Linked DNA regions of Homo sapiens: region 2 is linked to region 1. The links are contacts of gene promoters, found by promoter capture Hi-C in human tissues and cell types (Jung and others, 2019). All regions are on one chromosome and are shown on one strand. Each heading gives the region's core, a stretch centred on a gene start or on the middle of the fragment in contact. The rest is flanking DNA. Distances are from core to core; before and after follow the strand shown. Region 1 holds the start of IL1RAPL1 (interleukin 1 receptor accessory protein like 1). Region 2 overlaps IL1RAPL1 (interleukin 1 receptor accessory protein like 1).

The links. The method cuts DNA at HindIII sites, captures the fragments that hold promoters and counts their contacts. A contact is called where the count stands out against the background at its distance.
Region 2: a fragment that was not itself captured here is called in contact with the fragment with the promoter of IL1RAPL1 in region 1 in 1 of the 25 tissues and cell types used here (hippocampus).

Annotation. Positions count from the first base shown.
Region 1 is chrX:28,582,818-28,590,173 of GRCh38, reverse strand. IL1RAPL1 (interleukin 1 receptor accessory protein like 1) reads right to left here and starts at 2,728. Exons shown (of 11, transcript NM_014271.4): 1 at 2,127-2,728. The HindIII fragment of the contact is 4,831 bases long and covers 1-4,747 here.
Region 2 is chrX:29,899,802-29,907,157 of GRCh38, reverse strand. All of the region lies in intron 6 of IL1RAPL1 (interleukin 1 receptor accessory protein like 1), which reads right to left. Among named protein-coding and RNA genes, the nearest start is that of MAGEB2, 310 kb to the left of the region's middle. The HindIII fragment of the contact is 8,592 bases long and covers 1-7,356 here.

The DNA of each region.
Region 1 (7,356 bases), core at 1,479-3,978:
AGAAAACAGATCCTAAAACAGTAGAAGGCCAAAAGGACCTGATGTGTATCTTCTTTAAAAAAAATCACAACTCCAGATAAAACATGAGGGAAAATGACATTTTATTCTGCAGTATTCCCTTCTCTGCACAGTGAGCACAGTACATTTATCTCATATGATGGTAAAAGTCTTTGGCAGCTGCAACCTGTCTTTTAAGCCATTCAATAAGTGAAACTTGAACATGGATTGCTCTTTTTTTCTGGGATTTGTGTTAATAATGAATCCAGTGCCATTTAATTTGTAATTTAACAGGGTACTGTTACCTTTGAATGCTTTTACTTCTCTTTTCCCAGAAGGTTAAAATGGCCCAGAAAGAGATTGTCATGGTTAAGATAAAGGGACAAAACAGTCATTTCTGACACGCTGTGGAAGCAATCATCATTTTTATGAGGGAACCACCAGGCTGAAATCTGCATCAAGCTCTACCAGGAAAAATGCAAGAAAGGACCCTAAATATTCATTCCGTTCACAGTCATCATTTCAATGAATTTAACTTTCCATTCAGTTGGGGTCATATATTTCAATCCTAGGGTAAAGAACTATGACCTTGGCTGGAATCATCAGTCCCAGTTACTCAATGGGGCACTTCTGAAACATCGCAGACTCATTTTGACTCTCCACGGGTGTGGCTAAAATTGGTCCTGTCCAGCCCTAAAGCTTATATGATCTGATGTCCCTCCGAAACTCACTATGAGAAAACTCATGCAAAATTTGCCATAGAGATCAAGGTTTACAGGACCCTTGGAGCTAATCTCTCTCTGCCCTCCTCCTCTGTTAGCTGTTACAAGCCTTCAAAAGTTAACAGGGTGATGGAGCCTCTCTCTATACAATCATCTCATCTCACTATCGTTGACTGAAACTCGCTGATGTAATGAAGTTACATAATCACCGATTATGCACGACTTCCATCCATCTTCCTACATATCCACATATCTTCTCCCCTCCCCTTTGGATCAATCTACCAGGTGAGATTTATAACATATGTAAATGCTCCACTCTCTCATCACAGGCACTGAATATGGAACTTTAGCATTGCAGTACAGTGCACTGAACCACGTCATCAATATTGATTTCTTTATCCCATTTCCCAGGCAGAATATGCTTAAACATCCTTAGTGTTCTAGTCTCTAACTTTTTACCGAAAGGGTAAAATAGATGTAGCAGACAGGACACATCTTCAACTTAAGGTTAGGGGAAGTATGTAATTAATTGCCTGCATTTCCCAAGCTGGCTGCATTGCAATAAAAGGACGGTCTCTGCTTTCAGACCTTCGACTCCCCTGCACGTGGGTCTCAGCTTCAGCTATTTAGGATATTGGGTAAATAATTATATTATTGGGCAATTGAACTTGAGAAAGAAAGCACTGTGGTGATATTTAAGATAATGTTGCCTTATTCTTCTCTATGTTAGCCATCATTTTTAGCTTTTTCTTTTCTTTTCCTTTTTTCACTCTGAGTGATAATCCAGTAGATAAAAAAGTAGCCCAGGGCGCTTAATAATCTCCAGTAACCACAACCTAGAGAACAATTAACGATGATTATCACCTTAAAGTTTAAGAACTTGACAAGTGGGATGTCCCTGGTCCCATTGCGGCTGTGAAATGCAGCAGAATGCTGCACTGAGTTGAAAACATATTTCTTTTAATGCATAGAGAGTAGCTCGTTTCATTTTAAATGGGGCTCTTCACTAAGTGTTTCTTTTACTGCTGCTACCCCTTCCAGAACGCAGGGGCCACAAATATTACATTCAAACAAAGAGTGTCTACCCAGAATTAATTCAAGACACTCTTCCATATCAAAATAATTGGGGGAGAGAGTGATACTTTGATTTTCAATTGCACTCAGAATACGGGCACACATACATATACACACACACGCACACACACATACACACACACACACACACACACACACACACACACACACACATATCAACACACCCAACTGCAGTTATTCCATTCAGTGCCAATAACGGCCACATCACAGCCATCAATGCGATGCAGCAATCATTCAAGTCACCCATTCCCATTACAAATGCCCAAGTTTGCTCATGCCACTGATGGGTTTGCATATATAAAATGACCTTACCCACAACAGTCTTCCAAATTATTCTCCTCTGGATATTAGTCGGTAAGGTAATTGCTGGTCATCACAATGCGTATTCAGAAAAATCCACGTTTTACTCCTGTGTTCTTTTTCTTGTTTTTGCTAGCAATTAATATTGTGAACAAGATTCCCATTCACAAATGCCAAGTTCACCATAAAAGCAGATAATTCCATACAGATCTTCCCTACAAGACTGTCTCCAGTTAGTTCTCAAAGTGCCCGATTGTTTGCTGAAGATACAATCCAGGTGCAGAGCAGGAAAAAAAAAAACAGACTAGGAGAAAAATGAAGAGGCAGATAGAAAAGGAGAGACTGAGAGAGGAGAGAGCAGAAAAAGAGAGGGGAAAATAAGAATAATTCTTAAAAAATAAGGAAGGAAAAAAGCCGATAAGTGAGAAGTCTGCGAGCTCTATGACAAGAATTGGAGTGTTGCTTGCAAATCTTCTGAGTACATGCAGCCTTTCAAATCCTCCTGGTCCCCAAGTAAAATTTCCAGATCCGGGATGCAGCCATAAGAAAGAATCCTATGTATATTTCACAAGTATCCCGCAATAACAGATCCGACGGGGTTTTCCTTGTACAGTACTGCTATGTGAAAGCACACAACCCCTGCTGTTTGGGAAGGTGTCTCCTGGGTCCTAGCTCTCCTCAGCAGCCCCCAAAAATGATTTTTCAAAAAAGAGTCGGGGGGGGGGGTGGGAAAAGCAGCTTTGCGTTTGCCTTGAATGATGCTAATCCTGAGCGAAAACCACAAGCAAAACACGAATAGCACGAGATCTTGATTAATAGCCACAATCCACTCAAAATATCCCAGGGAAGAAGGAGCGAAAACAAGAAAGAGAAACTGCAACGCATAAATGATTCCAGTGTTTCTACAAGATCGGTTCATTTGATTGAATGCATTCTCTGGTTTGCTGCAAGTCATAAAGAGGATAGTATTACTGCCACCCAATGGATATTTTAGTACTAGCCAATCCACAGACAGCCACCGCTTTGCGAGTTTGAGTTCTCAGAAGACCGAAGTGGAAGGAAGGTAGCCTGGGAATCTTTTGGAAAGGACCCTGGGAGGCTTCAAATAACGGAAATCTGTTCTTCCAGGCAAAAGCAGACTGGCAAATTTGGATGCTTATACAGTCTTGCCTTAGCCACCTTAGAATTATGGTTCCATTTCTCTAGGAAGCAGAAAGATACAGAGAGTGATGCCTAAGCCGACACACTCTTGATAACCTCCTTTTCATCTCTTCTCTTTGAAGCAGATTTATTATTGCGCGCGACCCTCCCACCCCCATCACTGTCTCCCCAACGCCCCCATTCTCCGTATCACTTTAAGATGGATTACAAGAGAGAAGGGGTGCGGGGGCTGCTCCAAACAAACCTCAGGTGCTAAGATGATAATTGTTTCTAAAGGGCAGTTTTGCAAAAGTGCCTCTGTCTGTATTGATATGCAAACTGTGAGTCCTTCAAGCAGTAACCCTCCTCACAGCCGCGCTTTCAGTTTGGGGGAGGAGCAAAATCTTCCCTAAGTGAGTGGGGCTTGGGAGAAGGGTGCCTGTGGAAGGCTCTCTGGGAGTGCGGGGTGGGGGTGGGGAGTGGGAGGAGGAGCGGAGGGGAGGGTATTGAAGAGGATCCTCCTCCCATCCACCGCGTAATTGAGTTCCCTGCAAAAGAGTTCGCTGCTGGTTTCTGAGATGAATTTGTGATGAAGAAAGAGGGTCAAAGTAGGTACGGGTAAATACATTAGGTTATTTGCTCAATTTAAGGTCCTTGACCATTTACATTGGGATAGTATAACACTCACATGTGATTCCGTGATTCTCAAACTTTGATGTACACACCGTCACCTGGGTGTCTTGTTAAAATGCAGATTCGGATTCGGTACATCTGGAGTGAGGCCTGAGACCCTGCGTTTCTAATAAGCTCGCCCGTGGCCCATAATAATGTTGCTGGGCTGTGGACCACATTTGGAGTAGCAAGACCCTTAAAAAATGTTAATGTTTACACTGCAGCAACAGTGTCAGTTTCCGGCAGCTGAGTAGGCTGGATGATTAAAAGGCAGCGAGCCGCTTTTCTAGTTACTTCTCTCCCTCTCCCCACCCTGCAACCTTTCCCATTCAACACCGGCAGCCCATGTACTTAAAAACCTTAACCCATTTTGTAATGTATCCCACAAGCTTTTGTAATGGCAGGCTTAACCGGATAAACCAAAAATAGAATAAATAGGTAAAGTAGCCTTGGCCCTTCAGAACTGTTTTAATTTGGGGAGTAAAACACGCATCAAGATAAAGAAAACACTTTAAAAATTAGGTAAAATGTGAGCTAAACGAATACAAACTAAGCGCGCAGGTGAGAATAACAGCAGGCAGGGAGACTAGACAGGGAGGTAAAACTGTATTTCGAAAAAAGGAGCAGTACACTGAAATTTCCAACCTAAGCAGAGGGAAAATGTGGTTAAAGTCGGTAGGCAAGTCTTACAAGGTTTCTTTGAAGCTAACTCACCCATGTTCACATCTTCTGTGCCAGTGTTTTTCTTCCCTCTGCTTCTTCCCCACATGCTATAATTCAGCCTAAACTGAAGATTAGAAGTGAAGAGGAAATATATTCCCCTCCTTTCAACGTGAGTGATCTAGATTTTCTATACCTTCCATCACAGTCCTCTAGTTGACCCAGTTGAATGTGAATAGACCTCAAGCAGACCTGGAGGGGGGCACAAGTAACAAGTGTAAATGTAATTGCTTCAAGCAAAATTTAAAAGTAAACGTCTTGACCGTAGGCTCCAATCCTAGATTTGAGTCTAAATTCTACTCCTAAGTAGCCATAATTACCCAAGGGAATCACTTTAATTTCTCTTGGCCTCAGTTTCCTTGTCTATAAAATGACAGGTTGAAATTAACCAGTTGCCAACGTGCTGTCCAGCTCCATATGGTACAAAAATCACGTCCTCTCTTTGAAATGTTCTGCAAGTCAGTTTGTTACTGTACACAGAGAAGGAGTTATGATTATTACCTTGACATGGGCTGCAGAGAGCATCTAGAAGCTTTGAAAAGCATCTCGAGGACACAGGTGAACATTTGACCACTTCAATCCTATTTCAAGAGATGATTTAAAGTGCTTTCATTTCAAATGAAATGATCAGATCCAGGAAAGGAAGTGTTTGTTTGAATCTGAGGTGAAGCATTGTCTATTCCTGGATCCTACAGAGCCAACTGTGGGCCTCGCTGTTTGTTGCCATGGGATCCTCTTTGTGCGAACTATCTTGAACTGTGTGGGAACATTTTCCTCTTGCCTCCCTTCAGTTCTCTAACTCTTCTGAAGATATGTGTCAGAACAAAATGTAGCTGCATTATTGCCAATTAAGACTAACGGCAGCTGCAAGGTGCATCTAATTAAGAATTTTAATTACTTCACTGAATTCTCATTTGCAGATGTTTAGAGCATTCAACAATGTATTGTGATTTTTATTTTAAAATCTGAATAAAGCTGACCTCCCTCCAAAGGAGGGTGGAAAACTACACAACCCAATGATGGATATTTTTAAAAAAGAGTCTTTGACATGGAAAGTATATACCTTGATATATCATTTGAGAATATGCGACATTATATTGAGGATGAGGAAATAGAGTGCATATCCATAAATATGCCTTTTTTACTAAAGGAAAAGGCAAGCAAATCACAAAATACTGGAAACAAATTGATAATTTACTATTCAAGTAGAATCCTTGCATGCTACATAGTTCTCAAATATTCTGTTCTTTTTCTTTCCAGTAATATGATGGTTAACTGTAGGTTTGGCACTGCAGTATGGGGATTGTAGGCTATAATGCAAAGCATTATGGGGTTTGTAGTAAAAACTGGCTGCAGATCAATTCCATGCTTCTAGCTTTTCTCAGTTGAAGAAACTGCTGTTTTATTTTCTAGTAATAAAGAAGAATGTCAAGATACTGTACATTAGATTCATTTTAATGAAACAAGGTTGGTATTAATGGGAGTATGAAATTAAAGGTTAGCTACAGAAATATTCTGACTTGGGAGATGGAGAATATAACCCCACTTTACAAACCCCAAAATAAACTGAGTGAGCTATTTCCTAATATTACTATCCTATAGTTAAGGTTTCAAAAATCACTTTCATTGTTTTAGTAGTAAAACGTGAGAAAATATCAAATTTGGTATTTACGAAAGAGAATGATCAACACCTGAAATGAACTCAAGTTCTTATTGATTCTGTCTTTAACTATTGGTAGTTGAAATTTAATTCTTCACATTTCACGTCATTGAAGGCTATAATAATAGTTTGCTTTAGCGCAGCTTTTTGTGGATGGAGGCTTCTTTAAAGAGAGAAAGAGAGCCTACTCAGCTGCCAGCCACTCAGTGAAGTGAACAAGAGTTTTATTTAATCTACCTTTTTAGATACTTTTTATATAAAATTACTCTGAATATTCAGAGTAGCTTCTCTTTTTAATAAAATCCTTAAGGCTAGAATATCCTTAAGGTTAGGAAATATGTCTGAATTGGGTTATTTTATTCAGTTTAAATTTAATTATGGAAATGTATAAATTAAGAAGTTATAATTCAGTTCATTTTTGTGTGCAGATGATTCTATGTAGATAAATACATAATTTACAGAGGTTTTGATTTAATTCTGTTGGCAGTTTATTTCAAAGTTCACTAAACATTTTCCATATGATATGAATTCAAAGTCTAGCTCCCCACAATGCTCTATGAAATCAGCCCCCCTTTTGTTTTGAAGGCTAAAATACGTCTCTTCAAAGCCTCTTCCATCTGTGAAAGTTTCGATTATCATGCTAAGTTACTTAGAAGGTATTTTATACCTGAGGTTGCTTCTTTTTCTCTTTCTCTCCTTAAAGAAGCCTCCATCCACAAAAAGCTGCGCTAAAGCAAACTATTATTATAGCCTTGAATAAATGCAAAATCAAGTACTCTTCATTTTCAGGCCTTTTGCCAGCAATATTCATTTGAACCCACCACCACATATTCTCAAATGAGGTACAGACAAAGACTTGAGCATTTCAGCAAAATTCCACCATAAAGTTCAGGAATAATAAAGAATGCTATGAAAAAGCAAACAGCAACAGGAAAGAAAAATGCCATGCCTGCTTTTCTTTCAGATTTCTAAGTTTTGAATCATAAAAATATATAAATATATATCTTCTTGAATGCAGTTTACATTATTGTTCATACTGTGAATATTTCT
Region 2 (7,356 bases), core at 2,434-4,933, 1.3 Mb before region 1:
AATTAATAGATTGACATTCCAGATATTCAACTTGAAAATAATTAGTGCTAGATAGATTGTGATAGGAACTTTAGGGAAAGTTATTACTAGCAATTACTAATGCTACCATTAACTTTGCTTTTTCTTGCATATTTCCACTAACTTTCATATCAGTTTTTATTTTATACTCCCATATATTCTACAATGTCATTTAGCTTAGAGTCATATGGCTTAGATGTTACATTTTTTTCTTATTTTACTTAAGTCAGTGAGTTCCAAATTTATTGTCAAAAAATTTACCTCCACCCCCCACCAGATTTAGATTCAGCAAGTCAAGTCTGGAGAGTTCCAGGGATTTGAATTTTTAACAAGCACCCTCAGGTGATTTTTTCATGCAAGTGATTACAGTTAACTGTCCAGAACAATTTGTTTTTACCTTGGAATTTGTTTAAAGTGGAACTGGGGCTCAGAAAAGCAACAAAATTGAAAAATATTAGGGCAGGTCCTGTAAGCAGGAAGCAAGGACAGGGAGGCTGGAGAAGAGGAAAGAGAAAGAGGGTTCACAATAATGGCAGTTGTAGGTAGAGAAGTAGCTGGTGTAGACAAGAAAGTAGGATATAAAACTGGGTCACTGGCAACCCAACCAGGCTACAGAAATATATATATATATATATATATATATATATATATATATATATATATATATATATATATATATTTACAAAGTTATGTAGAAAGAAATATCTTTCATTGGAAAACTACTCATTGGTCTATGGCACACCCTTCCAGATTATTGGATTCCTGCTTTTTTATGTTTTTTTTTTTGTTGTTTGTTTGTTTTTTTGAGACAGAGTCTCGCTCTATCACCCAGGCTGGAGTGCAGTGGCGCGATCTGGGCTCACTGCAAGCTCCGCCTCCCGGGTTCACGCCATTCTCCTGTCTCAGCCTCCCGAGTAGCTGGGACTACAGGAGCCCGCCACGACGCCCGGCTGATTGTTTGTATTTTAGTAGAGATGGGGTTTCACCGTGTTAGCCAGGATGGTCTCGATCTCCTGACCTCGTGATCCACCTGCCTCGGCCTCCCAAAGGCTTTTTTACTGTCTTTGAACTATATTTTGACTCTGTAAAATGTAGGACACTGATAGGGGTACAAATTCTCTCCTGTCTGATAGTGATTTAATTGACTCACCTCTCCTATCCCCCCTATAACCTGGGGAAAAAAACAATTTTGTCTCCATTTACAATTCATCTCAACATTTCTTTAATCTGTGTAAATCTGCTGCTTTGATATTTCCTTTGAACTGGTCATAACATCTGCTTGGTCCCCTCATATCACATCAGCAAAAAATTTTTTAACATGTATTCATTCTTCCATCTGTGTGGGAGTCACGACTATACATGTTTCTGAAAATTATCTATAAAAGGGAATATATTTGCCTTATTGTTCATTATGGCTCTGACATTTGTTGGATTACTGAAGGATTTTATGAACACTCTCCTTATCCCCCTTTTTTTCAAATATAAGAATCAGCAACAAGCAATGGGGAAAGGATTCCCTGTTCAATAAATGGTGCTAGGAAAACTGGCTAGCCATATGCAGAAAACTGAATCTGGACCCCTTCCTTACACCTTTATACAAAAATCAACTCAAGACGGATTAAAGAAAGACTTAAATGTTAGACCTAAAACCATAAAAACCCTAAAAGAAAACCTAGGCAATACCATTCAGGACATAGGCATGGGCAAAGACTTCATGACTAAAACACCAAAGCAATTGCAAAAAAAGCCAAAATTGACAAATGGGATCTAATTAAACTAAAGAGCTTCTGCACAACAAAAGAAACTAGTATTAGAGTGAACAGGCAACCTACAGAATGGGAGAAAGTTCAATCTACCCATCTGACAAAGGTCTAATATCCAGAATCTACAAGGAACTTAAACAAATTTACAAGAAAAAAAAAACCCCATCAAAAAGTGGGCAAAGGATATGAACAGACACTTCTCAAAAGAAGACATTTATGCAGTCAACAAACATATGAAAAAAGCTCATTATCACTGATCATTAGAGAAATGCAAATCAAAACCACAATGAGATACCATCTCACACCATTCAGAATGGCGATTATTAAGTAGTCAGGAAACAATAGATGCTGGCTAGGCTGTGGAGAAATAGGAATGCTTTCACTCTGTTGGTGGGAGTGTAAATTAGTTCAACCATTGTGGAAGACAGTGTGGCGATTCCTCAAGGATCTAGAACCAGAAATACCGCTTGACCCAGCAATCCCATTACTGGGTATACACCCAAAGGATTATAAATCATTCTACTATAAAGATGCATGCACACGTATGTGTATTGCAGCACTATTTACAATAGCAAAGACTTGGAAGCAACCCAAATGCCCATCAATGATAGACTGGAAAAAGAAAATGTGGCACAGATACACCATGGAATACTATGCAGCCATAAAAAAGGAATGAGATCATGTCCTTTGCAGGGACATGGATGAAGCTGGAAGCCATCATCCTCAGCAAACTAACACAGGAACAGAAAACCAAACACTGCATGTTCTCACTGATAAGTGTGAGCTGAAAAATGAGAACACATGGAATAGGGAGGGGAACATCACACACTGGGGCCTGTCGGGGTTGGGGGCAAAGGGAGGGAGAGCATTAGGATAAATACCTAATGCATGCGGGGCTTAAAACCTAGATGACGGGTTGATGGGTGCAGCAAACCACCATGGCACATGTATACCTATGTAACAAACCTGCACATTCTGCACATGTATCCCAGAACTTAAAAAATTAAAATTAAAAAAAGAATCAGCAATAAAATTTTTATCTTTATTTAAGTCCAAGCTATTTAGCTTGTTATCAAGAGCAACTATCGTTCTTTTCTTTCAGTCTCTAATTTGCTGTAATAAGCAATTTCTGATAAGGCAATTCTAGTATGTGATTCAGAGAGCCAACCACCACAGCTCTTCCGTACCCTCTTCCATTTAGATATCGAAAAAACTCCTCCACCTCTCATCTCTGATACACAAGTGATAGAGCTAAGACTGCTTAGCACATTTAACCAGAAATACAGGAAATTAGCATTAGAATTCGACAAGTTAAGGAGAAGAGAGACCTTTATTTAATTTGTCTCTCAATTTTGTTTCTTTGTTTTCCTTCAAATAATAAAAGAAACAAATTTAAGCTATGGCCTAGGGATCTGCACACATCAAATATATCAGTCAGCCAGGTCTGCAGTCCTGAAGACAATGGTATTCTTGCTGCCTCCAGTTGATACCTGTAAAAGCCACAGTAAATTGCACTAAATGCTTCTGCCTCCTTTTTGGCAGAAAGGTGCACAGTCAGCTCAACCTCAACAGGTTCAGAAGGAAGCATGCTAAAATTGATCATAAAAAATCATTCCTATCTAAAATGAGAACAATGCTTGTCACACTGCAGCCTTTTAACTAGGCCATGATTTGAGGGGTCTTAGAGGAAAAACAATACTTTTTCCCTTCAACCAGTAGATTCCAATCAGCTAAGTGGAGCACAGTTCTAACTGGGTATCATATAGCCATTTCTAAAACTATGAGATCAGAGTCTCTCTCCACTAGAGGACACTCTCTAACTTACTGAAAAATAAAAAAGCTCTCTTTTTTTAATTAAAAAGAAAATTCTCCTCTAATTAAAAAGCATCAACATCCAGACATTTTACTCTTTGCAATTAGGAAACAGTGAGCATTTTGTTCTTAACTAAGATGTTGAATAGTAGGGGGATTTTAATTTCATTTGCACCATTAATCATGTATATTAAAATTACTCTACGGTCATGGTAAAGATAAATGTTTTGCCGAAGACTCCCCATTTAAGATAAAAGCAAAGTGGTTTACAAAACATATTTATCTTTTGTCATTAGTTACACTGAATGGCTCTTCTAGAAAGCTTTATTCAGAAATGAAAAAAGAGAAGAATTTCTTTGTCTCTCTCTCTCTCTCTCTCTCACACACACACACACACACACACACGGAGACAAATGAAGTTCGTTGGAACTTCATTAAGATCTTTTACCTAAATAAGTACTAGGACCTACAGCAGATAATAGTTGCCAATATCAAAGCACAGATAGTTCTTTGGAAATCAGAGATTTATCTAAGAATTCTAAAAGAAAGGAAAAGTAATGAAAGGGGTACGTTATATTAAGCTCATAGTTGAGGATGTGATTGCTGAAAGATATAACAACATCTGCTCAAATTTCAAGGAGACAAAATCACAAGAGGAAAACAAGGTATGAATTTTAAATTTGCTAACCATAATTCAGCTGTAGTGTCAGATTTCTTTATGAAAATAGATTTTATACTACATTACTATATATTTTTGTAGCTTTTAGGAACAAAGCAACTCAATTGTTTGATCAATAGATTATAAGAGAATTTAAGTAACAACAAATAACTTGGAGTTAATTAAGTTAATATAAATTTATAGTACCCATGGTGAGTGCTCACTCACTGTTAGCAATTATTATTATTATTAGTAGTAGTATTACTATTATGGGACAAACATTACTGTAAGTGATGATATATAGTATATATATCAAGTTAGGCCAAATTATGCCTTTCAGGAATCAGAGGGCTGCGCAGTGAACTTGGAATAAGCTGCTGGGGGATTTCCCACAGTAATCAAATGAAGAGAGGCAGTAGCATGGCTCCTCTAGAATAGAGAGGAAATCTTATTCACTTGAAGGAAAAGGGCCTGAGAAGTGGGAATATTATTACCACATTGTGCTGGGTAGTAAAAAGATTCTTGTAAGGGCTCAAATTTTAGCTCTTGATGGCTGTTTTCTACCTGCATGAAACAAAAGTTCATGGTGTCTAGAACAATCGGTGGACACCAGCCAGAAGAGGGGGTGTCCCTCTTGTTAACATCAAACATTTAACACCCAGATGCCCTTGATGACCTCACCCCTGGGAAGGTGTGATGTTGCACCTGAGTGTTGAGAAGATGGGTCTTAGATAAATGATGCGGGAAAATGATGACTATACAGTAGAAATTACTCACCTGCCAGGAAATTGATTTGCTCTAAAAGGCTACTCAGAAACTCCTGGTGATGATGAAGGGCAGAAAGTACAGCCATTGTTACCCTTGAGTTGAGTGGATGGAAGAAGTACCTCGTGATTTGCTTTCTGACAAAAACATCAGATCTGCTTATAATTGTACTCATTTCGAAAGTTTTTCAAGTCATCCACAAAGTGAACATTTTTTGTAATGCAGATATCTTTAGGTTTTAATACAGAGGTCTTTTTATCCTCCAATATTTGTGATTACATCTTGATAAGGCACATCCTTTATTTCTGCTCTTTTAATTACATAGTCACTATTCCAAATCCTTTCTTGATTTATTTAACTCTTACAGTGCTTTCTCATCTTTCCAGAGTCCTACACATTTAAAGCAAATTATTGCATTTTTAGCCTCCAAGTATATTTAAATCAGCCATTAAAAATGCATAAAGAAAGCATACATCTGTGCTCATTACTCAGTAAATTCTTTAGACCTCAGTATCATGAGCAGTTGAAACAAAAAGGAAAAATATGGGGGGAAAATTGGAATATGAAAAGGAGGAGCAAGACGGAAAGAAAAATGAAAGGAGGAGGAAAGTAAAGAATATTAGTGGTGGTGAAAGTGAAATACCCCTAGCAGTTTATTCAAATGTCAGTGACCACTAGGGGTCTGTTCAAGAGAATCACAACTTACATGTAACCCTGTCCAAACACTGCCTTATCTTTTTTGTGCTGAATACGTCATCTCCAAACCCTGGCTGATACCTCTTGAGGCAGAGACCACTAAATGTGTCCCAGTGTCTATTAGTCCTTTCTTCCTTTTAGTAGTATAGTCCCTAGAATTTTAGGTAAGCACGTGGCTACCCAGTTGTAGACCACATTTCTTAGCTTCTCTTGCAGCTACATGTGGCCATGTGCCTGAGACCGGGTCAACGAGATGTATGAAGAAGTGATGTGTGCAATTTCCTGGTCATTTCCTTTATGATAAAGCTGCATGCCCTGGAGTTTATTTTTCCCTTTCCTGCAGACTGGAAAGCAGATGTATCAGTGAACTGGCTTCCACCAGAAATACGAGGAAAAAAATGGGGAGCAACAACATATAAGGGACTTGAGTCCCTGAATGACTTAATTGAATGGAATCACCTGACTGGTCTGGGGCTGCTAGCTATTGGTTTATTTATCGAGAGAAATAATATACTTCAATTTGATCAAAGACATTACATTTTGGGGTATCCTTGTTACCCAGCTTAGCCTGTATCCATCAGTGCCTCTAGAATCTACTTTTTCCACCTTGTCTCACAGGTCATAGTGTGGCAGAATAAAATCATGGCCATATACCCACTAATTTGATCCACTTAGTGGTGAAGACAAAAACCACGTTTATCTCCTGCTAATCCCCTAATACTTTCCCACAATACTCATGTTCAAAGTGCAGAAACAGAAAAATATAAGCTCCCTCTTCGAGAAGAAAAATATGAATTAGAACGAGTTTCCTTTTAAGAAAGAACTTAGCTTAACTAGAGAAAAGCTAGAAACCATTTACTTAGACCTTGGTTTATTTAGGGGTAATATAGTAAATAGTATCTGTTCTAAAACACATACAGCAGCTTGTGACTTAGAATGATTTGTTTTGCTGGTTTTTACATGGATAGGTTGGGCCAAAATGGAAGGTTCAATTCAAATTGAATTTTATGATTCGCTGTACACTTTAATGAGTTATCCTCTCTAAACTTTCTTGACACTCAAGGTCTTAGGCACAAACCTGCTTTTCTTATGTTTTTAAAAATATAAATTGTAATCATTAGATTTATTAGTTTTCAAAGCTAATGAAATATTTTTAGGAAGCTTTATAAGCTTATAACGTGGCAAGTGCAGGAAATCATGATGGCTAATGCATGTTGTTTATTATTTAAGATGTAACAGTGAACTCACTGTTTTGTGTTTTCTCCTTTTCTGCCTAGAAGGATTTTTGTTAGTCGCCATTATATTAGAAGTACTCAGTGTTAACTGCTTGTTTTTCAGGCAGAAGTTTGCTCTGCTTGTCTCTTCTCCATACTGGCTCAGTAAAATGCTTCTGACAGCTTCTGAGCCTAAAATATACCATGAAGCCTGGCTTTGTTGTCCCCATTTGATAGAGGGAGACATAGCAGTTTGAACTGCCATGGAAGCAGTTTGAACAACTGAAGCTCAAAATGAGAGGGAATTTTCTGTGCTGAGTTAATCAGGAAGAGTTTCAGAATTTGGTAGCATTCATAGATATTTTCAGTATTTAAAAAATTCACTGTTGGCCGGGTGTGGTGGCTCACGCCTGTAATCCCAGCGCTTTGG